Regions from separate parts of the Homo sapiens genome. Here regions 1, 3, 4 and 5 are each linked to region 2. The links are contacts of gene promoters, found by promoter capture Hi-C in blood cells and fetal thymus (Javierre and others, 2016). All regions are on one chromosome and are shown on one strand. Each heading gives the region's core, a stretch centred on a gene start or on the middle of the fragment in contact. The rest is flanking DNA. Distances are from core to core; before and after follow the strand shown.

What was found. The method cuts DNA at HindIII sites, captures the fragments that hold promoters and counts their contacts. A CHiCAGO score of 5 or more calls a contact.
Region 1: a fragment that was not itself captured here is called in contact with the fragment with the promoter of SPOPL in region 2 in 1 of 17 cell types (neutrophils); the score reaches 8.9 in neutrophils.
Region 3: a contact is called between a fragment that was not itself captured here and the fragment with the promoter of SPOPL in region 2, in 2 of 17 cell types (neutrophils and total B cells). The highest score is 6.4, in neutrophils.
Region 4: a fragment that was not itself captured here is called in contact with the fragment with the promoter of SPOPL in region 2 in 1 of 17 cell types (fetal thymus); the score reaches 5.1 in fetal thymus.
Region 5: a fragment that was not itself captured here is called in contact with the fragment with the promoter of SPOPL in region 2 in 1 of 17 cell types (naive B cells); the score reaches 5.7 in naive B cells.

What each region holds. Positions count from the first base shown.
Region 1 is chr2:136,036,849-136,041,649 of GRCh38, reverse strand. No RefSeq gene overlaps it. Among named protein-coding and RNA genes, the nearest start is that of DARS1, 54 kb to the right of the region's middle. The HindIII fragment of the contact is 2,833 bases long and covers 2,126-4,801 here.
Region 2 is chr2:138,498,078-138,503,531 of GRCh38, reverse strand. It overlaps SPOPL (speckle type BTB/POZ protein like), which reads right to left and starts at 1,762. Exons shown (of 11, transcript NM_001001664.3): 1 at 1,413-1,762. SPOPL-DT (SPOPL divergent transcript) reads left to right here and starts at 1,837. Exons shown (of 2, transcript NR_187149.1): 1 at 1,837-2,213; 2 at 2,652-5,454. RefSeq lists silencers at 1,077-1,126, 1,327-1,866. The HindIII fragment of the contact is 5,215 bases long and covers 1-4,277 here.
Region 3 is chr2:136,052,744-136,058,152 of GRCh38, reverse strand. No RefSeq gene overlaps it. Among named protein-coding and RNA genes, the nearest start is that of CXCR4, 63 kb to the left of the region's middle. The HindIII fragment of the contact is 2,638 bases long and covers 1,475-4,112 here.
Region 4 is chr2:135,978,348-135,983,947 of GRCh38, reverse strand. It overlaps DARS1 (aspartyl-tRNA synthetase 1), which reads left to right. Exons shown (of 16, transcript NM_001349.4): 2 at 494-551; 3 at 4,582-4,674. Among named protein-coding and RNA genes, the nearest start is that of DARS1-AS1, 4.0 kb to the left of the region's middle. The HindIII fragment of the contact is 4,910 bases long and covers 666-5,575 here.
Region 5 is chr2:136,378,520-136,383,447 of GRCh38, reverse strand. No RefSeq gene overlaps it. Among named protein-coding and RNA genes, the nearest start is that of CXCR4, 260 kb to the right of the region's middle. The HindIII fragment of the contact is 1,640 bases long and covers 1,309-2,948 here.

The DNA.
Region 1 (4,801 bases), core at 2,293-4,792, 2.5 Mb after region 2:
GCCTGTAATCCCAGCTACTGGGGAGGCTGAAGCAGGAGAATGGCTTGAACCCAGGAGGCGGAGGTTGCAGTGAGCCAAGATCGTGCCATTGCACTCCAGCCTGGGGGACAGAGCAAGACTCCGTCTCAAAAAAAAAAAAATGAATATGGATAAGATAACATTTATTTTTGTATCTGAAAAAAATCACAATTCATAATTTATTGCCAGTGGCAAGAGTTAAAAATAGCTGATTTTTTTTTTACGCTACTGATTATAACAGGAGGAGAAAAGATGTTAAATGCCTAGTAGTTTGCACTAATCTAGATCACAATAATATCACAAGTAGATTTACAATATATTAAATAACCAATTGACTCTACCTTTTTTGTGAATATAAAGTTTTTTTCAGCAGGTAACAGGCATGATTTTAAAAATCGGTTTAGAATTCCCCAAAACATTGTTCCTATTTCTCTGAGTGTCTCCACCCATGAAACAAAACATAAATCTACTCTAGTTTGCACAAAGACATCTAACAGATAACAATGTATCGGAAGGGGTATGTATTTATATTCAGGAGTGCCTGTCTGGAAAACAGAGGGGACTATATCAGGTCTGATCTTCAAGTCTGTCTTTTAATTAGTTTGCCTCAAGTACTTGTTCTCTGTGTGAGAATCCACCTTATTTAGCTCAGGATGATCACGTTATGAATGCAGGAAGTAATGGCTATTCTGGCTATTTGCAAAGACAAGGCTTGGATACATATTCTAATAACACAGTATGAAATAGAGTAAAGGAGTGTTCTTAGGTGGGACCTTTATCAGTGTTGTCACAAATGGTAATGAGTCAAAGCTTAATAACGATGTGCCAAAAAGGTTGTCTTAGCAAAAATAGCAAAAACCCATCCTAGTAGAATTCATCTGTTACTCTACAGGCAGATTTGTGAAAGCTTCAGCAATTTTCTTCTTGCCAAGAGAACTGGCTTTGCTGTCCAATTGTTTTCTCATAGAAAGGGATTTTTGTTTTTTATCAACTTTTTTTATATATTGATCATATGTTAAATATTACATATTTCTCTTTGGAATCTTAATTAAAAGATATGCCTTGTAAAAAGAGCTTTATTGAGATATTATTCACATGCCACACAACTCACCCATTTAAAGTAGACAATTCAATGGCTTTTAGTATATTCACAGAATTGTGCATCCATCACCATGATCAGTTTTAGAACACTCATTACTCCCAAAAAGAAATACCATACCCCACAGCCACCCTCCCATAGTCTTCCCATCCTTCAAGTTTTAGGCAACCACAAATCTGATTTCCATGTCTATAGATTTGCCTACTCTAGGCATTTCAATAAAATGAAATTCTACAATTTGTGACCCTTTGTGACTGGTTCCACTCACTTAGCATAATACTTTCAAGGTTCATTCACATTGTAGCAGATATCAGTACCTATTTCTTTTTGTTGGCTAATAACATGCCATTGTATGAATATATCACCTTTTATGTATTCCTTAATCAGTTGATGGATTTGCATTGTTTTCATTTTGTGAATATTATGAATAATGCTGCTATGAATATTTGTATGCAAGTTTTTGTGTGGACACAAATTTCATTTCTCTTGGGTCTGTCTATAGTTAGGAGTGGAATTGCTACAACATATAGTAACTATATTTCACCATTTGAGAAACTGCCAGACTGTCTACCAAAGAATTTACCAAAGCATTTATGTTCCTGCCAGAAGTGTATGAGAATTCTAATTTCTCCACATACTTGCCAACACTTGATATTAACTGTCTTTTTTATTATAGCCATCCTAGTGGATGTGCAGTGGTATCTCATGGTGGTTTTGATTTGCATTTCCCTAATAACTAATTATGTTGAACATCTTTTTTATGTGCTTATTGACTATTTGTAGATCTTCTTTGGAGAAATATCTATTCAGATCCTTTGCCCATTTTAAATTGGGTTGTCTTTTATTATTGAATGGTAGCAGATTTATATTTTAAAAGGAACCTCAATATGTAAAAACTAAAAATTCAGTTAATATATATTGAGCACCTGTTATGTGCAGTGAAGGGCAGTACCATGTGTGCAAAAGCCACAATACGTGTGCAGAAGGGAAAATATGCATTAAGAAGCTTACCATTACTAAGGTGGATAGGGGTGTGAGACAAATAAACTAGTAGAGGAAAATCATATCAGCTTAGAAAATCAAAAGGGCTTTGTAGAAAATTTGGTATTTTTGGTGGGTCTTTAAAGTGGGGAGAATTTTGACAGAGAGATGGGAGAGGACATTTTGGGCAGAGAGAACAGCACAAAAGGGGCACAGGGACACTGGTGTTTAAGGCATGATAGGAGAACAGCAAGTAGTTTTTTGGCTAGAGAATGGAATGAGCAAAAGTCTAGGTGATGAGACTGGGAAAGGTTAGACAGGAACATATTAGGGAGGCGTGTCAGGTTGAAGAGTCTGTGTTCAAATCTCGAAATCAGTAGTTCTCAACTGGGCATAATTTTGGCCCCCAGAGAATACTTCACAACATCTGGGGATATTCTCGATTGTCACAACTGAGGATGCTACTATTAGTGGGTAGAGACCAAGGATGGTGCTAAGCACCCTACAATGCACTTCAGCCCCCTATAACAAAGAATTATCTGTCCCCAAATATCAATAGTGCCAAGGTGAGTCTGACAACAACCTCAGCTTACCACTTGGAGAGAATTTCCATGCTGCAGCACATAGAGAGGGACCCAGGCAGTGCCCAGGGCCCTTTTAAAGAAAGTATATTGACATGTTTAGAGAGAAGAGAGGATGGAATCATATAAGATGATCAATTAATAACAGAGAAAGCAGAAAGGGAAGGGAAGATAAATGGGATGGAAAAAGATATACCATGCTAACACAAACCAAAATAAAGCTGGAGTAACTGTACTAATTTCAGACAAGCCAGAATTTAGAACAAGGAAAGTTTTCAGCAACGAAGAAGGACACTGTGTAATGATAAAGGGGCTAATTCTCCAAGAAGATGTAACAATGCTTAAAGGTATATACCTAACAACACAGCATCAAAATACATGAGGTAAAAACTGATAGCACTGCAAGGAGAAATAGACAAATATTATAATTGGAAACTTTAACACCCTTCTTTCAGTAATTGATAGATCCAGCAGGCAGAAAAACCAGTAAGGACATATTGTAGTTGAACTGAATAGTACCATCAATCAACTGTATCTAATTAACACTTACAGAGTACTGCATCCAACAACAGCAGAGTACTCATTCTTCCCAAATTCACATGGAACATTCAATACAGACCACATTCTGGGCCATAAGATGTGCCTAAGCAAATTTAAAAGAATAGAAATCATACAAAGTATGTTCTCAGACCACAATGGAATTAAACTAGAAATCCATAATAGAAAGATGGTTGAAAATCCCAAAATATTTGGAGATTAAACAACACACTTCTAAAAAGACAAATTGAAAAGAATGAGATCATGTCCTTCGCAACAAGATGGATGCAATTGGAGGCCCTTATCCTAAGCAAATTAACACAGAAACAGAAAACCAAATACCACACGTTCGCTTATAAGTGAGAGCCAAACATCAAGTACTCATGAACACGAAGATGACAACAATAGACACTGGGGACTACCAGAGCCAGGAGAGAGAGGGGCAAGGGTTGAAAAACTAAATGTTGGGTACCATGCTCAGTGTCTGAGTGACGGGATCATTCAGACTCCAAACCTCAGCATCATGCAATATACCCAGGTAACAAACGTGCATGTATACTACCTAAATCTAAAATAAAAGTTGAAAAAGAAAAAAAAATTATACCAATAACTCACAAAAAATAAAAATAAAAAGACAAATCATACCAAATATTAGTAAAGATGCTTAAAACCGGACCTCTGATACCCTGCTAATGAGAATGTAAAATAGTACAACCAGCTTGGAAAACCGTTTCATGGTATCTTAAAAAGTTAGACATGCCAGGCGCGGTGGCTCATGCCTGTAATACCAGCACTTTGGGAGGCCAAGACACTTGAATCATTTGAGGCCAGGAGTTCAAGACCAGCCTGGCCAACATGGAGAAGCCCCAACTCTACTAAAAATACAAAAATGAGCTGGGTGTGGTATCATACACCTGTAATCCCAGCTACTCAGGAGACTGAGGCACAAGAGTCCCTTGAACCCTGAAGACAGAGGTTGCAGTAAACCAAGATTGCACCACTGTACTCCAGCCTGGGTAACAGAGAGAGACTGTGTCTCAAAAAAAAAAAAGAAAAAAGAAAAAAAAAGTTAGACATAAACCTACCCCGTGATCTAGCCATTCTAATCCTATGTATTTACCTGGAGAAATAAAAGCATATATCTATATAAAGACTTAGCCGTAAATGGTCATGCAGTTTTATTATAATAGCCAAAAACTGGAAACAACCAAATGTCCTTCAATGGGTATACGGACAAACAATTGTGATATGTCCATACAATGGAATACTACTCAGCAATAATGAGGAATGAACTGTTAACGAATGCTACAATCTGGGCGTGTCTCAAAATAATTCCTGAGTGAAAAAAAAGCCAGACAAAACAAGAATGCATGTTGTATGGTTACTTTCATATAAAATTCTAGGGAATGCAAACTAATCAACAGTGAATGCCTAGAGATTGTTGGGAGGAGGAGGGGATGCGTAGGGTAGGAGGCAGGGATTAGAAAGGGGAACAAGACAGTGCAGGGCTGTAATGCATATGTCCTTTATCTTGATTGCAGCAGTGGTTTCATGGGTGTATACATGTGTTGAAATTTATCAAATT
Region 2 (5,454 bases), core at 513-3,012:
GTTAAATGTCAAAGAATAAGAAAGTAGCTTTCCATTCCCACCTTCCTGTCTTAGAATTAATCTACCCACAAGCCAGATCAAGTCAAACCAAGAAGTGATGATAGCATTTATCAGATATTTGCCCTGTGCCAGGTACTGTTTTAAGTACTTTACTTGTATTTACTTGTGCAATTACTAGCACCATCCTGTGATGTCATATCATAACCCCATTTTACAGCTGTAAGTATACTGAGGCGAAGAAATATTAAGTAACTTCCCCAAAGCCAAAGCTGGTAGATGGCAGAGCAAGGGTTTACACCCTGGCAACTATATACTAGTCTGAGCTCTAGAGAAGAGTTCTTAACCACTAGGCAACATTTCTCACAAGAATGATGAAATGGTAATTTGAAATATTCCACCAATCTCATCGTGGCAGGAGAGATGTAATTTTTCAAGGTATGAACCTTTTACCTCTGTCAGTTTCTAGTCCAAGAAACAGTGGATTCAATTGCAAGTGGGAAAGTGAGTACCACAATGGGTCAAACTAGGCCCAAGATTATTCAAAAATAGACAAAGCATCAGAAGCCTGGAAAGAATCACTGAATGACAGAGTTCAGTCAGGAAAGAGACAAGCGAAAGTTAGGATAAGCAGATGGTGAATCTTATTTCTACTGGGTTGTGTGACTGCTTTGAGAGAGAAAATGCTACCTTCCCTTTTCTTTTATGTTGAATCAATATACAAATACATTGACTCAAAAAGAATTAGGAAAAAGGAGAGCAGCAGGAATACAAGTGGGCTCTTTGAAGACTTGGACCCCGAACCGCGCGGTTAGCTTGATGTACTCTGGTATAAGTGAGCAAAAATGTATTAGAAAGCAGGTTAAAGAGAGGTTAAAGGCATGACCACCGGACTGGAGGTAGTGAGCGGTCTGCGAAGCTGAGAACTCTGCCTAAAATGGGCTAACAGGGACGAGAGTTTCAAGTGTCTGTATTTGGGATGAGGAGGTATGAAAGTGGACGCTGCGCGGTGGCAGAGCATGCAGTTTCTGCCTTTGGGCAGCACTCAGGTAAAAAGGGGCAGGTGTGGAGGTATACAGGTATAGAGGAGGAGAGAAGCCAGAGGAAAAGAAGGGGCGAGGCCCGGGGGTAAAACTAAAGGGGATCCTGGAAGGTGGAGGCTGGGAAATCAAGGAGGGATTGGGGGCAACCCCGGGGAAAGTGGTGCCGCCGCGCGAGGGAAGGGCGGTCCGGGGGCGTGGGAGGTAGTCCCCAGAGCAGGCCGGAGCTCGCCGCCCGAGCAGGGGTCCGGGACCCAGAGAGCAGAGGGCGCAGTGAGGCGCGAGCAGGAGGCCGCCGGTCTACGGAGAGCCGGGGGAGGGGAGCAAGCGCCTGGGGCTGCCGCGGGGACTGGGGGGAGGGGAAGGGGCGCCTACCTGGACGTGCTGGGCGGCAGCGGTCAGTCCTGGTGGAGACTCCTCTCCCGCTGAGGCGGTGGCCGTGTCCGCCCTGGGAGCCCGAGGCTGCGGTGGTGGCAGCAGGGGTGATGGCGGCAAGTCCCTGTGGCGGCCGCCTCCGCCGAACCGCATCCCTCCTCCCCGACCCGCCCTCCTTCCCTATCTCCCGCTCCTAAACTTCTTCCCCGGGATAAACAAACCCGCCGCCAGGGGCGGCCACCTCCGCCACTCCCGCCCCCGCGCAGCCCCCACCCCCCCGCCGCGGGCCCGTCTGGGCTCCGGCTTCCGAGTTACGACTCCAGCCCCGGCTCCAGCCCGCGAGGGCGCGTGCGCGCGGCGGCGGCGGCGGCGGCTCCTGGGCCCTTGCTCCCTCCTACAGCGCCGGGCACTTCCGGGCGGGCCCGGATTTGCCGCCGCGCTTGGGAAGCCGCCACCGCCGCCGCTGCTGCATGGCACTAGGCTCCCGGCGGGGCAGGTTCCGCAGCCGGCACCGCTCTGGCTAGGCGCACGGAGGCGCCTTGCTTAGTCTGACCCTTATTTGGCCAGGCGTAAAACTTGTCCTGCCTAAAAGCCTACTGAGACCTCCTAACTGGTCTAATCCGCGGGAGACGCCAAAGGCGGCGGCCGTTTGTGCGCACAGGATTTTTCTTGGAGCTGTAGCAGTCTAGGAAGCCAGGGTGGAACTTTTGCTAAGCTCCCGTTGTAAGCCCAGAGCTGTAATAACTGCTGAGACACAACCAGCAGTATACAGGCTCCAGTTGGAAATCGAGAACTTTCCAGGTAGATGAAGTGCCCCATGGAGCAGTTTTCAGGTGGAGGGGATGAGGCTCAGCTGGAAGTCTCAGGCCAGAAGGAGAGGCTGCCGAGGGGCGGCCAGGGATGCCTAGGAAGTGAGCGCAGAAGACCAGGCGGCCTCCTGGGACCGCACGGTGGGAAATAAAGCTGCACCTGCACAAATGTGTGAAGAGAGGATGGGATTGCCTTGTCTCTTCGGACATTTAGTTTAAAAAGGGGGTGACAACTGAACTTTTTATTCCCCACGGCCATGGGACAAAGATACTTAATCGAGCTACCAGGAGTAAACTTCTTTAAAGAAGTTTGGGGGACCAACAATCCCGGCTTTGCCAGAACAGACATGAACGTCATTCAAGGATCCCAACTCTTTTTGCTTTAACTGTGCATACGTCAGCAATTTTTGTTTTGTTTTGTTTTTGACAGGGCTGTCACCCAGGCTGGAGTGCAGTGGTGCCATCACAGCTCACTGCAGCCTCGACCTCCTAGGCTAAAGTGATCCTCCCAACTCAGCCTCCCGTAGCTGGGACTACAGGAATGTGCCACGCCCAGGTAATCTTAATTTTTTGTGGAGACGAGGTCTTGCTATGTGGCCCAAGCAGATCTCGAACTCCTGAGCTCAAGGGATCCTCCCACCTTGGTCTCCCAAAGTGCTGGGATTTGCAGGCGTGAACCACCACACCTGGCCATAAACCAACTTCTCATTGCTTACCTGGCTTTCCAAGAAAAGAGAGAGGGCAGAGGGAAAATATTTATTATTTTGCTATGTACTGAGTATTCTAAGCATGGACTTGTATCGTCTCTGTTCTCTCAACAACCTCTCTAAAACTTCAACGTAGAAATTTCCATCTTAAAATTAAGCGACAAGAACTAGAAATGGCAAGTAATTCATCCAGAGGTTACTGGGATTTGAATACTGGACAGGCAGATCCCCCTCATTTCAAATTAATACTACATTAGCTGTCTTTTTTATTTCTTTTTTCTTTTTGTTTGTTTGAGACAGGATCTCGCTTTGTACGCCAGGCTGGAGTGCAGTGGCGCGATCCTGGGTCACCTCCCAGATTCAAGCAATTCTGTGCCTCAGCCACCAAGTATCTGGGACTACAGGCGTGAGCCCGGCTAATTTTTGTATTTTTAGTAGAAACAGAGTCTCACCATATTGCCCAGGCTGGGCTCAAACTCCTGGCCTCAAGTGATCCTCCCACTTCTGCCTCCCAAAATGCTGGGATTAGCACCTGACCTTACGTTAGCAATCCTGTTGACTTATTTAAGACAAAACGTGCTTTAAGACAAAATCTGTGCCAAAGGTTTTCAGATAAAGATAAAATTAGCAATGTAACCATAAAATTCAAAGTTGCCTTGGGCTGAGTTGGTAGAATGTTTATGCAGATCAAGGAACTCCAAAAGTTAAAAAACAGAAGTGGAAGTGAGCATTAGGGAATGGGGAAAGAGTTGGTGGAGAGAGGAAATATTTGTGTAAACATTTAACCATCTCCAAACACCAGCAAAGAACAGTTGAAACGATTTGCTATACTCACTGTCCACCCGTGTTAACTTTATGGTATGTGACATACAGCAAAAATTACATGTAATTTTTGACTAAGCCTTTTAGCTCTTTCAATCCCTTCGTAGTATGTCACCCCCTCTCTTCCCATAATTAAAAATTATAAGACACCTAGTAAATATAATACACTCATAGAATTAAGTTATAAGTCCATCAAGTACATTTCCAATTGGAAGTTAAGAGTGATGCTGACCCTTCACAGTTGACTGGGCTGAAGTTGGGAACTGATTCAATAAACTTCCACCACAAGGATGTCAAATTGCTCCTCAGGGTATTCTCAGAGAGTCTTTTCCCTAGGCTTGATCTCCTTACCCTAAGTGTTAGGACACACCATTCCTCTCTTGCTTGCAGTATTCAATGACTTTACCCACTAATAAAATGATAGTAAATAGTAAGAGTGAATATGGCTTGTAAGTAATGCTAACAAAACTGTGATGGCTTAGCAAAGTAAAAGATGGTTTTATGGTCAGTAAGTTTGGATTAAAGCTTACTAAAGCTTGATGCTTTGTTACCAGTCTGCTAAAGAACTACCTTCTTAATTTGATTTCCTACTTACTGGATACCTATTGGAAAACTAGAGAGATATGATAGGCTTTCATTTATTGCTGCCGTAAATAAATTTTTAAAATAGAGAAATAACAGCTTTGTCATTAGTGTAGAGCACAGTTTGCCTCTGCTAGGTCAGTATTGGGCTTGCTTCGTTTAAGTCATTAACCATTAGGATCACCCAACTTGTCCTGCCTAAAAGCCTACTGAAAAAACATGCATATAACTTTTGCATATTTATTTTGCTACTTATTGTTGATTTTCTATAGGAAACTATTTATACTCCTCAGTGTATATGGCCAACTTGGAAGTTCTACTTCCTATAATTATGTCAGCAGTTAGTGAAGATGATCAAAACAGCCATTCTGAATTTAATAAACAGATGAGCCTCAGACTCTGGATCTCCATGACCCAACCCTATGAGGCTCTGCCTGAAGAACCAATCAAGCTTCCCACTTTGATATTTTAGTGACTGTAGCATCTTGTTCCTCTTCTAAATTAAACACCACAGATGCTCCCATTTCATGGCTGTGTAGGCACGATGGACTCACCACTGCCTTCCATACCACCACCTGGTTTATACAATAATTTTCCAATTCTAGTTGTCCAAAACGAAGCTATACAAAACTCACAAATCCATTATTGTCTTCCATGTAGAGATAAAAAAGCAAGGAATATGCTTGTTAAAAAGCATGCAATACTTTATGAATCCTCGGTGATGTACTTTTTGGGCTCGCTGCTGCTGGAGATTTTGCTAATGCCCCTACACGTTTTAATGCAGTCCACCAAGCTCTTTGCTAGTAAGCTGGTTTCCACTTTTTTTTTTTCCTTTTTCTTTTTCTTTTCTTTTCTTTTTTTTTTTTAAACAGACAGGATCTCCCTTTGTTGCCCAGGCTGGAGTGCAGTGGTTATTCATAGGCATGATGATGGCTCACTACAGTTTCAAACTCCTGGACTTAAACAATCCTGTCTCAGCCTCCTGAGTAGCTGGGACTTACAGATGCGCACCACCATACCTGGCATCCCACATATTTTTCTAATCATTATCCCCTTCTTTCCTAAATTTTCTTCAAGGAAACCAAACTCAGTCCCAACTTCCATAAGCTAACACTTATACAA
Region 3 (5,409 bases), core at 1,544-4,043, 2.4 Mb after region 2:
TACTATCAATTTTAGTATTTATGGGTGGCATCAGCACTGACAATGGTCATTGCTATAGTTTGAACATTTGTCCCCTCCAAAACTCATGTTAAAATTTAATTGCAATTGTAACAGTATTAAGAGGTGGGTGCTTTAAGAGGGGATTAGGCCATGAGGGCTCTGCCCTCCTGAATGAATTAGTGCCATTGTCATGGGAGTAGGTTCCTTATAAAAGGAGAAGTTCAGCTCTATTTTGCACATCTTCCTCTTTCTTTCTCTCTCTATCCTTCCCTCCCTCACTGCCTCCCTCTCTTTGCCCTTTCACCATGGATAATGCAGCAAGAAGGCCCTTACCGGATGCCAGCCCCTCAATAATGGAATTTTCAGCCCCTAGAACCAAAAGCCAATAAATATCTATTCATTATGAATCACCCAATCTGTGGTATTTCTTTTGTAGCTGTACAAAACAGACTAAATCAGTCATCTAATTAGTCGATAAGCATTTGGTAGGACCCACTGGACTCATTGCTAGTTACAGATTTGCCAGCACGGTAGAGCTATTCCTACAGTCTTGCAACTCAGGGGACCTTATTCCTCTACAGAAACCAAGTTCTAGTTGCATGTTGACCCAAGTCAGCATCAGGTAGATGGCCAGCTGGGCTAACAAGTCATCTGACAAGCTCTTATACAATCAACACATTGCCTCCTACTTGCCTTCCCATCTCCGAGGCAACAGGGGTAGACCTGAAACTGGCTGCCAAGTGCCCCCACTGTCAGCCTCTGCCCTTTTGTGACATTTTCCTCATCTCCACCTTTGTCTCACTCCCTCAATGCTTCTACCCACACTTATCCACTGCTGTCCCTAGTGTTGACACTCATACTGATCAAGGCCACCCTTGAAATTTCATTTTTACTAGATTTTGTGTCTGCTGTGACACTGGGGCGCAGATATATCACCCTCAGAAGACCTGTGAATAGTCGCTACAAAGTGTGCTGGCTGAGATGAAAGGAAAAATGGAGTTAGCATTTACCGAAACTGGTCAGGCTGAAGTGGAAATCCCCAAAGAGACAGATGCAAAACATTCTACTGTTTCTAGAAGGGATGAAGAGATCTGTGGAACCAAAGTGGGGGTAGGGAGCAGGAATATAGTGTAAAGTTAGCTATATGGTGAGAGGAAAATGAGCTGAAGGCTACATTTCTTTAGATGAAAAATAAAATTTTTCAAACATGCAGAATAGCAAAGGAAATAATCTAATAGTGCCCAGATTAAATAAATGTTAGTATTATGCCTTTTTGCTCTCTTTTATTTTAAAAAATAAGATGTTACAGATCTAATTGAAGCTCCCTTGTAATCCTTCTGATTTCATTCCCCCCACCACCCCCTGCCAAGTGCAGATCACTTTCAAATAGAATGAGAGCTACTGAGTCATCATATTGGGATTATTTTTTATAGACTTTCATTGGTTTTTGCTTCACATCAAATATTAAAAAGCTTTGTTAAACAACTACCAATTGGTTAAAAAAAAACGGTTTAAAATAAAGCAAATTCTATTTCTTATATACCACACCGTGCTCAAATGAACCAAACCTGGTTTATGTAACACTTCTTAGAAAAGGTGACTCATTTTACAACCGAAAAGAAATGGAGCTTTAGCATGTCTTCTCCTACATATCACCCGTTATGCCTCGGAAAAGAATCTGCCCCTCTGGGACCCATTTCTGAAATTTACCACTTACAACACACACTTCACATGTGGTCTGTGTCACTTCTGTAGCTAACTAGCATCTTGTCCTAAGAACATTTCTCAGTGTATAAGTCAGCAGGGGTTGGTCTAAGCACTTTGTGTATATTAACTCATTTAATCTTTACAACAACCTAGTGAGGTGGATACAGTTACTATACCCATTTTATAGATGAGAAAACTCATCTGCAGAACTTACTGGTCATTGTATTTTTGTGAAGGAATCATGTGGCTGCCAAGAGTTCTTGTGTGCAGAGTAAACTGTAGCCCTTCCTATTTTATGTTATTGCACTATGTTAATTACTGGGTCTTTAAATAGCCTGAGACTTCTAACCATCCAGGCATTGTGTTAATGCTTGGCTGTATTGTAGCTACTTCCTTGACTTTCTTCAAATACAGAGTTTTCATTTCTTCATAGAGAACACACTAGAAAATTAATGTTTCATAAGGTCTAGATCGCCCATTTTTCACAAAGAAGTATGTTAGTTACTCACCTTTTTGAGCCGAAGGAGGGGCTGGGGCTCTAGAGAAGGTATTTACCCACTGGCACTCAGCAGCAGCAGGACACAAGTCATATGGATGCAGCGGGAGAGGAAGGAAGGATGGTGTCCCTTCAGCCATGGCGCCTCTCTGTCCTCTCCCTTTCATTCTACCTCTGGCCATCCTTCCCTCCCCAACTGGCCTGGCCAACCCATAATCATTCTTCATGGCTCAGATTAACCCCACATCTCCAGGGAAGCCCTCCTGGGCAATTATAGCCCACATTGGTTCTTCATCACATTGGCCTTAATGCTGTGTAATTATTTCATTTCCTTCCTTCTTCTTCTATTTTTTTTTTTTCTTTTTTTTTTTTTTTTGAGATGGGGTTGTACTCTGTCACTCAGGCTGGAATGCAGTGGTACAATCATGGCTTACTGCAGCCTTGACCTCCTAGGCTTAAGCAATCCTCTTGCCTCAGCCTCCCAAGTAGCTGGGACTACTATGTGTGCCACCATACCCAGCTAATTTTTAAATATTTTTTATAGAGACTCTGTGATCTTCCTATGTTGCCTCAGCTGGTCTCGAACTCCTGGACTCAAGTGATCTTCCCACTTCAGCCTCCCAAAGTGTTGAGATTATAGGCATGAACCACTGTGCCTGGCCTTTCTTTCTTCTTTTCTTCTTTTCTCCCTTTCTTCCTTTCTTCTTTCCTTCTCTCCTTTCTTTCTTTCCTTCTATTTTTCTCTTCCTTTCTTTCCTTTTTTCTTTTTCTTTTTTTCCTTTCTTTCAGTGACTGGCCAATGAACGCCTAAAGGTTAGAGATAATATCTTATACTTATGTATACCTAGTAACCACCACCACAAAAATCACTGGGGTGCTGGTTATTTCCTGTTTTAAGGCTATGGAGGGGAGCATGTGGAGGGGACTGGATGTAGAAAGAGAGGTTATCATCATGGTGCCCTACCCAACCCACCCAGAAGAGGAAGACGGTGTTGCTTTGGAACTGTATGGCTACTCAGCCTTCTTCCAGCCACAGGCGGGGCAATACTCCTTCCTTCCACTCCAAGCAAGAAATAATATGGACATGTAAGGGATCTTCAAATGCCTTCTTGTGCTGGTTTACAGGTGGCTCAGCAGGACCTGCCATTAGATTCCTACCTGATAATAGGAATTAAGCATAAGACAAAGGTAGCAGAGTGAGGGGGTTAATAACATGGACTCTGGAGCCAAATTTACTGAGATCAAATCCCAGCTCTACCACTTACTAGCTGGGTGACCTTGAGCAAGCTGCATAACCTCTCTTTGTCTCTGTTTCTTAATCTGGAAGCCCAGGGTAACCATGAAAGCACCTATCCCATAAAGTTGTCATCAACTTTAAATGTGTTCGTAGTCACAAAGCACTTAGAGCAGTATCTCATACAAAGGGGGACTTTACAAGTGTTTGCTATTATTATTCATGTCCCCCTTCTTCTAGTGTTTTCTTTTTTACTAAAATGGAGCTTTCATTCAGATGGCTTATCTTATAGCTTTGCACACCTAGGCCTCCTAGTGTACATGAATGATTTTTGCAAAAGCCATCAGCAGAAAAGCCTTTCAGCCTAGCATGGTGGAAGAGGTCTGGCAGACCTGAGTTCAAATGCCAGTGTTACTCCCCAGCGTTGCTGAGTCTCAGTAGTCTCAATTTCTTTATCTGTTAAATGAAGCTAATAATGCTTTCTTCATATTAACATTGAAACAGTTAGAAATAATGCTGGATATAATCACTTGTTGGCACACAGTAGGCACTCAATTAATGTAGCAACTTTCACCATCCCTGTCATCATCATGAGTTGAGTTTCTCTCAGGTGTCATAAAGTACTTAGCACACAGCTAGAACTTATTTACAAAAGATAGCTATTACTTACAAGCTTGAGGTTCATAAGGTCTTCTACAAAAGAATGCACAGCTTTCCCATAAAAGTTGACATGAACTTTGTAAACATATTATCATACAATTCTAATGCTTCTACCAATTAACAACAATATGCTGGCGAAATCTAAAATCAATTTTTGCATCATGTTTATATTTTAAACAAATCCTCAGGCTTCACTATAATCTACACACTGAAATATGCATTTAAAACCATTTTCAGGGGGCTGGGCACAGTGGCTCATGCCTATAATCCCAGCACTTTGGGAAGCCAAGGTGGGTGGATCACCTGAAGTCAGGAGTTTGAGACCAGCCTGGCAACATGGCCAAACTCTGTCTCTACTAACTGTACAAAAATTAGCCAGGCATGATGGTATGTGCCTGTAATCCCAGCTACTCAGGAGGCCAAGGCAGGAGAATTGCTTGAACCCGGGAGGCAGAGTTTGCAATGAGCTGAGATCTCGACACTGTACTCCAGCCTGGGCGACAGAGTGAGACTCCGTTTCAAAAAATAAAAATAAAAAATAAAACTATTTTCAACAAAGAAAGGCTTGGCCTCAGTAGTAACTAAAAATGGCTGCTCTATTATAGGCAGTCGCAGGCATCACTATTTTAAAAGAGAAACCAAGCACCAAAGGAATATAGCAAGAGGTTGTTCAAGAAGTACATTGCCTAAAGAAAACATTGTGATGAAAAAGCAATTACTCAAAATCTTTTTGAAGTTACAAGTTACAAGGGATTTGTTCCTTTGAAATCATTTTAAGAGTTTAAAAAACTTCTTAGAAAAAAAATAATGAATAGCTTTAGCCTTATTCAGTAGACTCTTAATAGAATCATTGCATGTTACAGCTGTAATGAATCATCCTAAAGATAATTTTAGGATAGTTGCCTCCCTTCACAGATTAGGAGCTCAAGCCCAGAGAGGTGATAAAAGTAGCACAGAATCAGTCTTTTATCACCTCTTCCACTGCCGCTCACCTCTCTGGACCTGAGGTCTCACATTGACTCTAAACTCAAAAGCTAGTGCATTTTTTCTCTGAGTTTAAATTTAAATAAATGTGTCAATTGATGTACATGCACCCAAAAGAAGATAATTTACACCTCTGTAAAGGAGGTGTGAGAGATTAGCAAGGTGTGAGATTAGCGAGAAAAACATAAAAGAGCAGGAAGGTCGAGAACTTTTTAACATAATTTTGTTTTATCAATGTCTTAGACTACTTCATCCATTGTGAAAATTTTTTATCTAAAAACTATTAAGTCAAAAACATATTTTTTGGTGAGGACTATAAAGCTTTGAC
Region 4 (5,600 bases), core at 1,871-4,370, 2.5 Mb after region 2:
TATACCCAGCATCTCCAGTTTCTAAAAACTGTGGACATCTGGTGCTCAGAAAGCTTACCCAAAACGTTGGTTCTCTTTGAACATTTCTTCCTGTAATAGGAAGTTAATAAAACTGTGGTACTTCATCCTACTCCCTTCACAGAGGAAATTTATGTCCCTGCTTTGAAGTAGTTTCATCTTTTTGAAGAAGGTAGTTAAGATGTGTTGTACATATGTGTAAATTTTATCTGAGAATGTTATTAAGTATGGTAAATCCATCTAGGAGTGGTGATCTTCAAAACAAACTAACCAGAAACAGTACTTTTCTGTTTTCTGTAGAGTACATATGTAAATGAATGAGAGATTTCCACATTATGAAACTACTGACTTTCTGAATTAATAAAATGATCCTGAAAGTTAAATTCATTTTTATATTCTATTATTAGTATTTATGTGTTTACTGTGCTCTTAGTGTTTACATAAAAAGTCACGATGCAAAAAACTTTTTTTGTAGGATTATGCTAAAGAGAGATATGGAATATCTTCAATGATACAATCACAAGAAAAACCAGGTTAGTAGCTATGTGACAGTAAATAAAGCTTTTTTGCTTTCTAATTCCAGGAAAGCTCTAAATGAAATTTTAAGTAAGGTTGGCATAAATCTGAAGGTATAATTCTGAAAAGCTTAAATGACATTAATAATCCAAGTAGATGTCATAACCCTGTGTAAACATTGTCAGTTTAGGGTTCCAACTCTAGAAAAGGAAAAAAAATGTTATTAGGTATTGTAGGTTAAATGGTATGTTTTAAATGGTAGATTATATTTTTTAAATATTCCTAAATTATTAGGTAAGATTCAACCGTTGTCTAGGAGATAGGAGAGTGGCTAATAACTGCCTTCATCACATGTAGCCTTTTTGCATGCTTTAATAAAGCTACCTCTTTTACTTCCCCCAACCCCCACAACTTTACTTCTCTGACTGTTTTTAGCTATTATTTATTCCTATTTTGCTTGACTCTTCCCAAACATTTATATTTTCACTTATTCTCTACAGCATCCTTGAAAACTAAGGAACCAAAGTTGAAAGATAAGAAACTTGACTTACACAGAGTCTGCCAGACTTGGGATTAGAACCAAAGGCCATCTGACCCTAGAGTCCATGGGTCCTTCCATCTTACATCTTCTCTGGCTTCTTTGGCAGTACTATGATTTGAGTTTTAAAGCCTCCACCCCCACTCCATTTTGTTTACTCGTAGCTTTAGTGTCTGGGAATGAAATGAATTATTCTTAGACCCCAGTCTATCTTTTCTTATAACCGCTCTTTTTTGTTAGTGTATGTTGGCATCTTTATATTTCTTTTTTTTTTTTTTGGGAGACAGAGGCTCGCTCTGTCGCCCAGGCTGGAGTGCAGTGGCATGATCTCGGCTCACTTCAACTTCCGCCTCCCAAGTTCCTACAATTCTCCTGCCTCAGCCTCCTGAGCAGCTGGGACTACAGGCGCACACCGCCACGCCTCACTTTTTTTTTGTATTTTAGTAGAGATGGGGTTTCACTGTGTTGCCCAGGCTGATCTCGAACTCCTGAACTCAAGGCAATCCACCCACCTCGGCCTCCCAAAGTGCTAGGATTACAGGTGTGAGCCACCGCACCCGGCCTTATATTTCTTTGAAATTGACCTGACTCATGTTGTTTCTCTCAGACCTGTAGATTTTTTATTTATAAATGTTTGCCTTTCTTTTACTTCTATTCTATATATGTAATTTCAACAGATTTGTCTTACTTAACTATTTGACAGTAATTTTTCTTTTGGTAGACACTTCAAATTACGTCTCTCACTCTTTGGTGCAGTAATTGTAGACGTTTACATTCTTGCCCATTGGAAGCACTGCTTCCAGTTTAGAGGGCTGCCTATGAATATTATGCTTTGGAAATAAAACACCTCTAGGTTAATTTTATTGTTATATTTGATTTGCCACATGATCACAAAATCACTTTTCTTTCCCAGGCTTGTTGGGAAAGAATACAATAAAAGACCAAAATTCAGAGACTGAGTTGGGAGGATCACTTGAGCCCAGGAATTTGAAACTAGCCTGGGAAACATAGTGAGACCCCATCTCTACAGAAAGTAAAAAAATTAGCTAGGCGTGGTGGCATACACCTTTTATCCCAGCTACTCAGGAGGCTGATGGGAGGATCACTTGAGCCTGTGAGGTCAAGGCTGCGGTGAGCCACGATCACACCACTGGACTTCAGCCTGGGCAACAGAGTGAGACCCTGTCAAAAAAAAAAAAAAGCCAAAATTTCTGAAAATCATTTCCAAAACATAAAGATGAAATAAAGTAATTGAGTACAGGTTGAGTATCCCTTAGCCAAAATGCTTGAGACCACAAAAGTGTTTTGGACTTTATTTTTTTGGACTTTGGAATATTTGCATTATATTTACCACTTGAGCATCCCTAATCTGAAAATCCAAAATCCTCCGATGAGCATCTCCTTTGACCATCATGTCAGCACTCAAAAAGTTTTGGATTTGGGAGCATTCCGGGTTTTCGGGTTAGGAATGCTCAACCTATGTAAAATAGACTATGAGCAATAGAGTATAGGGGATGATATTCCTCTGCCAGGGCAAGCAGGAGGAGACACTTGAGACTTTGTTTTCAGGTTAGGTGTCTTTCTCAACTGTACTTCCTTGAGCTGTAACACAAAGAAGCTCACTGGAGTTTAGGTCTTTAACATAGGCCCAAAGCAGCCATTAACATAATTGCTGTTGTTCTTTTGCTGGCAAATCCACAGACAGTTGCGTTCTTCCACTTAGAGAGAAAGATAACCTATGTATGTAAAATTCGGCCTTTGGTTTTACCTCTGCAAAAATGCCAATTCTTTGCTCAAGGTGGTTTCCTTTCTCATCTGCTTCCATTTCTCTGCATTAATCACTCTGATGCCCATGACTCTTAAAAGTGCAGTTTTCAAACTGAAATCCTACTACCTTGGTTGTTACTGGTTAGCCAGTCATAGTGATGTGAGTATGGCATGGGCTTCGGGTATGTTCGGGTGTATTAAAGGTTGAGAACCCCTATGCTAGTTAATTGCCATGCCACAAGAAAGAAGAGCCATTACCCTTTTTCTTCTCCAAAGTGCTAGTAAAATTATCCTAATTATCGCATATCTCTTAGACTTCTGCTTTTCTGTTTTGTGTGGTTTTGAGTTGTGATTGCTTGGTTAGCCATTGCTTTTTCAGTCTTGGCATTTTCAAATCTGCCTTTTAAAATCTTCTGCTGATGTGTCTGTCTTTTCTCTTTCACGCTTTCTTTTGCCTGAGTTTACACAGCAGACTTGGAAGTTGGCTTAACTCATAAAGTCTGTTGGCAGTGTTTTGCAGAAATCCTCTTGTGATGCCAGTGGCTTTAAAATTCCTCTTTCATTCTCTTTGCTTTTGGCTATGAGAACCGTGTTATTTATTCTCCTGTAAATCAGATTCTCTCTGCAGCTGCATCTTTTCTTCAATAGGCAAATTATAAATACATTTAGAAAAATTCGGTAAGACATACAGTATTTATAATTTGACTTTATGTCTCAAAAGGTATTCTCGATATTGTAATGTCATGTCTATTGCTATGTTTAATTTAACTAATACTTAAATGTTTTTCTCTAATCAAATGATTGCATTTAGAAGAGTAGCAAAAATGATTGTTGAATGTTGCGTTGTATACACATCTTTACATAACAGTTGTTTTGTAGCTGTTTTCCTGTTTAGGAACTCTAGATGAATGTAGTATTTTGTTTAGTATTAGGAGCATAATAGTTGGGGCTCACTTACAGCCAAAAGGCTCGATAGGGAAATGTATGAGATGACATCAAGCATGATTGGATCTTGGGGCTCAGGAAGCATCTACAGGCCTTTCTCTCTCCAGCTTTTGGCTCTGTTTCCTTTAGGATATTGGCCTCCTTCTCGAATCCTGCAAACATAGCAGGAAAGGTGAAAGCTGCAGCCCTGGGCCTGCACCATGTCAGCGCAGCAATCCCAGGAAAGAGAGCTTCATTCCCAGCATCTGTATATTTAGTCCCAGAGAAAGACTTGCATTAGCTCAGTTAGAGTCACTGCATCCTGGGGAATAGGATACTGCGACTGTTCAGACTTGGTAGAGACTAGCTGACTTAGGTACTGTGGCAGGCAGGCAAAAGTTCCATGTCCTAGGCAGGATAGGCTGTGTTTGGCCTTACAAGTCATTGAAGTGTTCAGATTTGCATTTTGAAACTGTCTGACTTCAAAGGAGACTGAATTAGAAGGGGACACAGGGATTGCAGTTAGGAAGCTATTGCTGTAGTTCAGGTGGGAGACAATAGCTTGGTTTAGTATGGCGGCAGTGAAGATGGTAGAGAAATAGACGGATTTTAAAAATATGTTTAGAAAGCACAGTTCACAAAACTTGAGGCAAATTGCACATGGAACATGATAGAGAAGACAGTGTTGTCAAAGATTGAGAATTATTCAGGATGGTTCCAAGTACTTATGCTAGCTGTCAAAAATAATTATGATCTCTTTGTAAATTCTGAATTTAAAAATTATTTTACTATATAAAAATCGTTTACTGTTATTACAGATCGAGTTTTGGTTCGGGTTAGAGACTTGACAATACAAAAAGCTGATGAAGTTGTTTGGGTACGTGCAAGAGTTCATACAAGCAGAGCTAAAGGTAGGATTGGTTTCATTATTAAAGCTCTTTCGGTAAGGACTCCGAATTTTTTGTCTTACATATTCCTCACAGACCAAAGTAAATCTTTAAAAACAAAACAAAAACATGTAACTTTTCTTTCTTAAAAGTCACTGTAAAGTATTAACCCATGGTTAATCAATTTTAGATTCCTGTAAAACATCCTTACAAATAATTTGACCCTAAAGACTGATGAAATCTAAGACTTCAAGCTACTTTTCTAGCATCGCTCTAAAGTTTAATTATTTTCAGCTGGAGAAGGAGTAGCTAAAAAAAAAAAAAAATTGAAAAAAAAGAGTAAACTTTAATTATTTAAGTGAAGAGTGTTTTTGAGAAACTTCCCGTTTGTTAATATTTTTATATTTGTAATTATCTAGATGAGGAGAGAAGTGAACAAAAGATAAGACTGGGCAATTCAATACAGTAACCACTGACCACATGCAGCTATTTACATTTAAATTCAGTAATTCCGTCACACTAGCTGTATTTCAAGAGCTTAATGACCACATGTGGCTAACGGCTCCCATTTTGGACAGACAGCACAAATACAGAATATTCTCATCATAGAAAGTTCTTTCAGACAGTGCTAAAAATTTAGCCTCAACAACAGAGAAGAAACGTTAGGATCATTTAGACAGACCCTGTTCTTATAGAAAATTGGCCTACTGTAGTGTTCAGAATTGTCTAAAAATATCAATTGACACACTAGTTTATAACTTTATACTTTTCATACTTTTTCACATTTGATCATCCCTGCAAGTTTGTGAAGTAGGCAGAACAAGCATTCCTATTCCACTTTATAAATGAGGAAACACGTTCAGAATGAAGCTACTTGCCCAAAGTCTCATAGTAATTGGTGGAGTATAAACAGAAGCTAGAAGCTTTCTAAGACATCTCCGTCTCTTTAG
Region 5 (4,928 bases), core at 879-3,378, 2.1 Mb after region 2:
AGCAGGCTGAAGGATAAGATCTATTATGGCTCATTTGCATAGGCTCCTCAGTATTCTGGTTGAGGAAATGCTACGTATCATCTATTTGCACAGATGGACTATAGACATGCCAGCATACGTATGGCCATGGGATTAACAAAACATGCCACATGGGCAAATAGAATCAGGTTGAAAGAGCAGTCCAGACCACCCTGAAAAAAAAAAAAAAAGGCCTAAAGGAAGAGAGAACTTGGAGAACTGAAGAGTGAAGCAGGCTTTATAAGAAGTGAGGCCAGGGCTGTGGCTAAAGTTGAAATTTATACAGGCAAGAATGACTGACGGGGTGGAAATGAATGGAGGGGGTACACAAAGTGTGTGTATTTAGAGGACAGTAATATCAGGAAGCAGGGCAACTACTTTTCCAGTGGTCTATGCCTGGATGTGAAGGGAGGTGTTTGAGGAAAAAAGAAAGCCTGTCTCCACTTCAGTCCAGTGTTATTTCATCTCTCATCTGAACTCCATTCCTGTTTCATTTATCTTGCTGGTCTCCCAATCTAAATTAGGTTTTGCCCCATTGTACAGTCTCACAGCATTCTGAACTTTAACGTCACAGCAAAAATCTTAATTATACATGCAAGTAAGCTGTTCTTTCTCTATTGCCTCTGTCTCCTGCAGGACTGAAAGGTCTTTGAGAGCAAGACCTGCAACTGTTTTATTCACTGCTGAATCCCTTGCACCTAGCATATAGTAGGTGTGCAGTAAATGTCCAGTGAACTACTACATGAAAATCAGGAATATATGAAAAACATGTCTGTCTGATGGCAGGGCCGCCTTCCAGGGCACAGTTGCTCTGGCTGCCTGGGCAGCTTAACTCAAAGTCAAGTGAGGTCGTCAGTGACAGGTGCAACCACCACCCAGGCCGAAACTTTGGAGTTTGAGTGTCACGGAGAGTGAGAATGTCCTATTTCTGTTTGAGAAACACCACCACCAAGTTTCGTCAGCAGACCCTGCCTTTGACGCTGCACCACATCCCCTCCCCATTTCCTCTCAGTCAAAACGGAAGATGCTTTTCTTTCCAAACAAACTTCTCTTGAGCTTCAGGGCCCTCCCAGACCTCCCTAAACCCACCAATCCCAGCACCCTGCCTCCTACTCAGTCCTGCAATGAGTGACTTTGTCTGTACTCATTCAGATCCATACACACCCTGTGGTCGGCTGTGTTTGTTTCTGTTTTTAAAGGGCTGAAGCAACTGAGTCTCAGAAAGAGCAGGTGACTTCTTGAAGGTCACACAGCTAAAAGCCCCGTCAAGGGCATCCAGAGCATAAAGCTTTGTCATGACGCTAGTTGCTATTTAAGTGCTTGCTAGACTCTGCTAAGTGCTTCCTCACATGACCCCTGCCGATCCTCACACCAGCCCTGTGAGATGAGTATATTATGAAGCCCAGTTTATCAGAAGGCCTAAGTCACGAATTAGTTGGATAACCAGCTCAGGGTCACTCTGCTTGAAGTCACAGATCTGATTCTAACTCGGGACCGAAGCTGACCACATAGCCTCAACTCTCCCCTACATACTCATCACATGGCTGCTGGATGATTTTTCTCTGCTTCAGATTCTCACTTATTCCACTGGACGCTCCTTGAGCAATGGAGTCACATGGTGGGACAGGTGGCCCCTGGTCACTGAAAGGCATTCCACCCAGAGGGACCCAACTTCAGGAAGTAACAACCTCTAGCACCCCCACACCTGCCTCCCTACTTTTCTCCACGCCCCTTCTTTCTTGCTCTCCCATCCACTGCAGGCCCCCACCAGGCCTTTCCTCCCTGAACCCAAACTCTCCTCCTCCCAATTATCTTCACACCAAACTCAGCTGGTTTTCTAGGGGGATGCACCTGACAAGCACATTGACTGTGACTAGCACAGCACCTACCCCAAATATGGGGCATCCCTTTACAATTCAAGCACATCTTATTTCAGCCAAATCTACAGGGACCATTTCTGTCAATTCTGTAGTAAAAATTTTATAGCCCGGGGAGTTTCTCCACCAGGGGCACATGTACTTGCATTTTAACACAGAAAAACCTTAGGAGGGAGAAGAAGGCCCCAAACATGAAGGCTGTAAATATGGATGTTCACCTCTTAACCTCTCCTGGCCCCAGCCCTCTGAAGCTGGAGACTTAAGAATAGCTGCTATAGGGGGCCAGACATGATAGCTCAAACCTGTAATCCCAGCACTTTGGGAGGCCAAGGTGGGAGGGGATTACTTGATGTCGGGAGTTTGAGACCAGCCTGACCAACATGGAGAAACCCTGTCTCTACTAAAAATGCAAAAATTAGCTAGGCATGGTGGCGCATGCCTGTAATCCCAGCTATTCAGGAGGCTGAGGCAGGAGAATCGCTTGAACCTGAGAAGCAGAGGTTGTGGTGAGCCAAGATCATGCCATTGCACTCCAATCTGGGCAACAAGAACGAAACTCCATCTCAAAAAAGAAAGAAAGAAAGAAAAGCTGCTATATATCAAGCATCTACTCTGTGCCTTGCCGGCCATTTTTACTTGACCCCTAAAACCACTCCATGCAGTAGGTTGCATTGTCCCAGATTTACAGGTTTTAAAAAATGAGATCCAGGCTGGGCACAGTGGCTCACGCCTGTAATCCCAGCACTTTGGGGGGCCGAGGCAGGTGGATCACTTGAGGCCAGGAGTTCGAGACCAGCCTGGGAAACATGGCAAAACCTCATTTTTACCAAAAAAATATGAAAATTAGCCAGGCGTGGTGGTGTGCATCTTTGTCCCAGCAACTTGGGAGGCTGAGGTGGGAGGATTACTGGAGCCCGGAAAGTCAAGGCTGCAGTGAGCTGTGATCGCACCACTCACTCTAGCCTGGGTGACAAAGCGAGACCCTGTCTCAAAAAACTAAATACATAATAAAAACGAGAGCCAGAGAATAAATAACTTCCTGACTCCAAAGCTTTGCGTATTTGCCACTACAATTGGCTGCCTCCCTGATTCTCTTGGTGAGACTTAAGATTTTGCAAAGCAAAACCCAGCTCTTACCTTCCCACCCGATGCAGGCTAGAGGTTCGATCAGGGAGCCATTTATATTCAGCAGATAGTAGAGCCTGCGTACGATGTACAAGCAAACATTTGTATTCTAATCTGTGATTAGAGTTCTACTTCCAGCTCTGGAGTTCTTACTATATAATTGTGCCCACAAATCCAGTTTGATTTGCTGTTCTGCTTATTTATTCTTTGCATTGGAATTGTTTAGAGTCATTGGACTAACCAAAATTTTTAAATGGCAAATTAAACAAGAGGTGAATGTGCTAGCGTTGGAGCCATATTGATCCAATAGAACACGAAACAGGTCTTTTAATGTATGGATGAAATCTCCAAAGCTATTGACAATTTTCTGCCATGCTTTTTAATCATCACATGCTTGCTCTGGCTTTTGAATTGCCTAACCTTTGGGTGGTAAAATCACAGCATGTTATTTTAATCTCTTTATAATGGACTAGAGTTCACTTCAAATAAACATGTCTCCCTGTGCCCTTGGTAGGAGGCAGGCAGGGTTGAGAGGCAGGGAGTGTTGAGAAGCAGGCTCGTAGCCACATGGATTCCCCAAAAAGCCTGAACTGCACTCTCCATCTGAAAACCACATGGGCTTCTGGGCCTGCTGCTCTTATCTCTAACACTGGGTTCCCAAAACACAGTCCCTGGAGCAGCAGCAGCAGCATCACCTGAGAAACTGTTAGAAACGCAAATTCCCAGTCCCTTACTCAGACCAACCCCCATGTCATGCCATACAGTGGCTTACCAATAGTATTCACACAATAAATATGTATGGCTTACTGAGTTCCTAACACAGGAAAAGGGAACAGAACAGCAATGAGTATAATGGAGCACAGAATGGACCTTGGATGTCTTCGCTTCACATTTGCCTGGGGTTGGCTTCTATTCCCCAAGACAGGGGTTCTCTAACTTGAATGTGCATCCGAATCATCTTAAAACACATATTTCTGGGCTTCACCTCCAGAGTTTCTGACTCAGCAGGTCTAGCTGGGAGCCAAGAATGTGCATTTTAACAAGTTTCCAGGTGATGCTGATGCTGCTGGCACACCTCACTTAGAAAGCCACTGCCCCAGAGGCAGGAGTCACCTGTCTCCAATTTCTGCCTCTTTTTCTGGCCTTGGATACTATACATATTTTTAAGGCCTTCCCTCTCCAAACTTCTCAAAACTTGGCTCAAAAGATTATCTAAAGGCTGGTCCAAAAATTACTAAAACCAGAAGAAGAATGGATGTATTCTCTTTAAAGAAACAGACAGGACTCTGTCTTAATAAGAGAGCAGTTACTTATTCAAGAGCTAGGAAAGGAGGGATGGCACTGTTGTTAGGGATTCATGGTCAATTTTTTTCTTCCATGCAGGTAGAGAACATGGGTTCTTGATGTCTGGTTTCTTTTTGTAAGGTTGCTCCAAGGTCCCTGGTAGGCTTTAGGGTTTGCCCAGCCACAAGATGGCAGTACTCAGCCAGCATTCACATGAAATGCAATACTGGCCCCCAGACTCCTCTTGCTCTTCAGATGATACCCAGAGCAGTGAACTGATGCATTTGATGCAACCAAAATAGGCTCATTTTCCTCCTGGGAAACCTGGCATTGAAGAAATTCTCCATCTAGTAAACTCAGACCCGGGAACAATGACCCTAAACAAGATTACATGCATGCCATTTAGTGTCTAAAGACAGAGCCGTTTCCCACACTCAAATGAGGAAACAAGAGGCTAACTGGTCATATGGTACCAACAAGACAATGAGGCAGAATAATAAATCTGTGGGCCTCCCCAAATATCTGTGAATATGTGGCCATCTCAGTTACAAGGCAACTAATGGTGACCTAAAAATAGATATCCATTGAAAGATGCATTAAAAATGTTATATCCTAAGCAAAGTG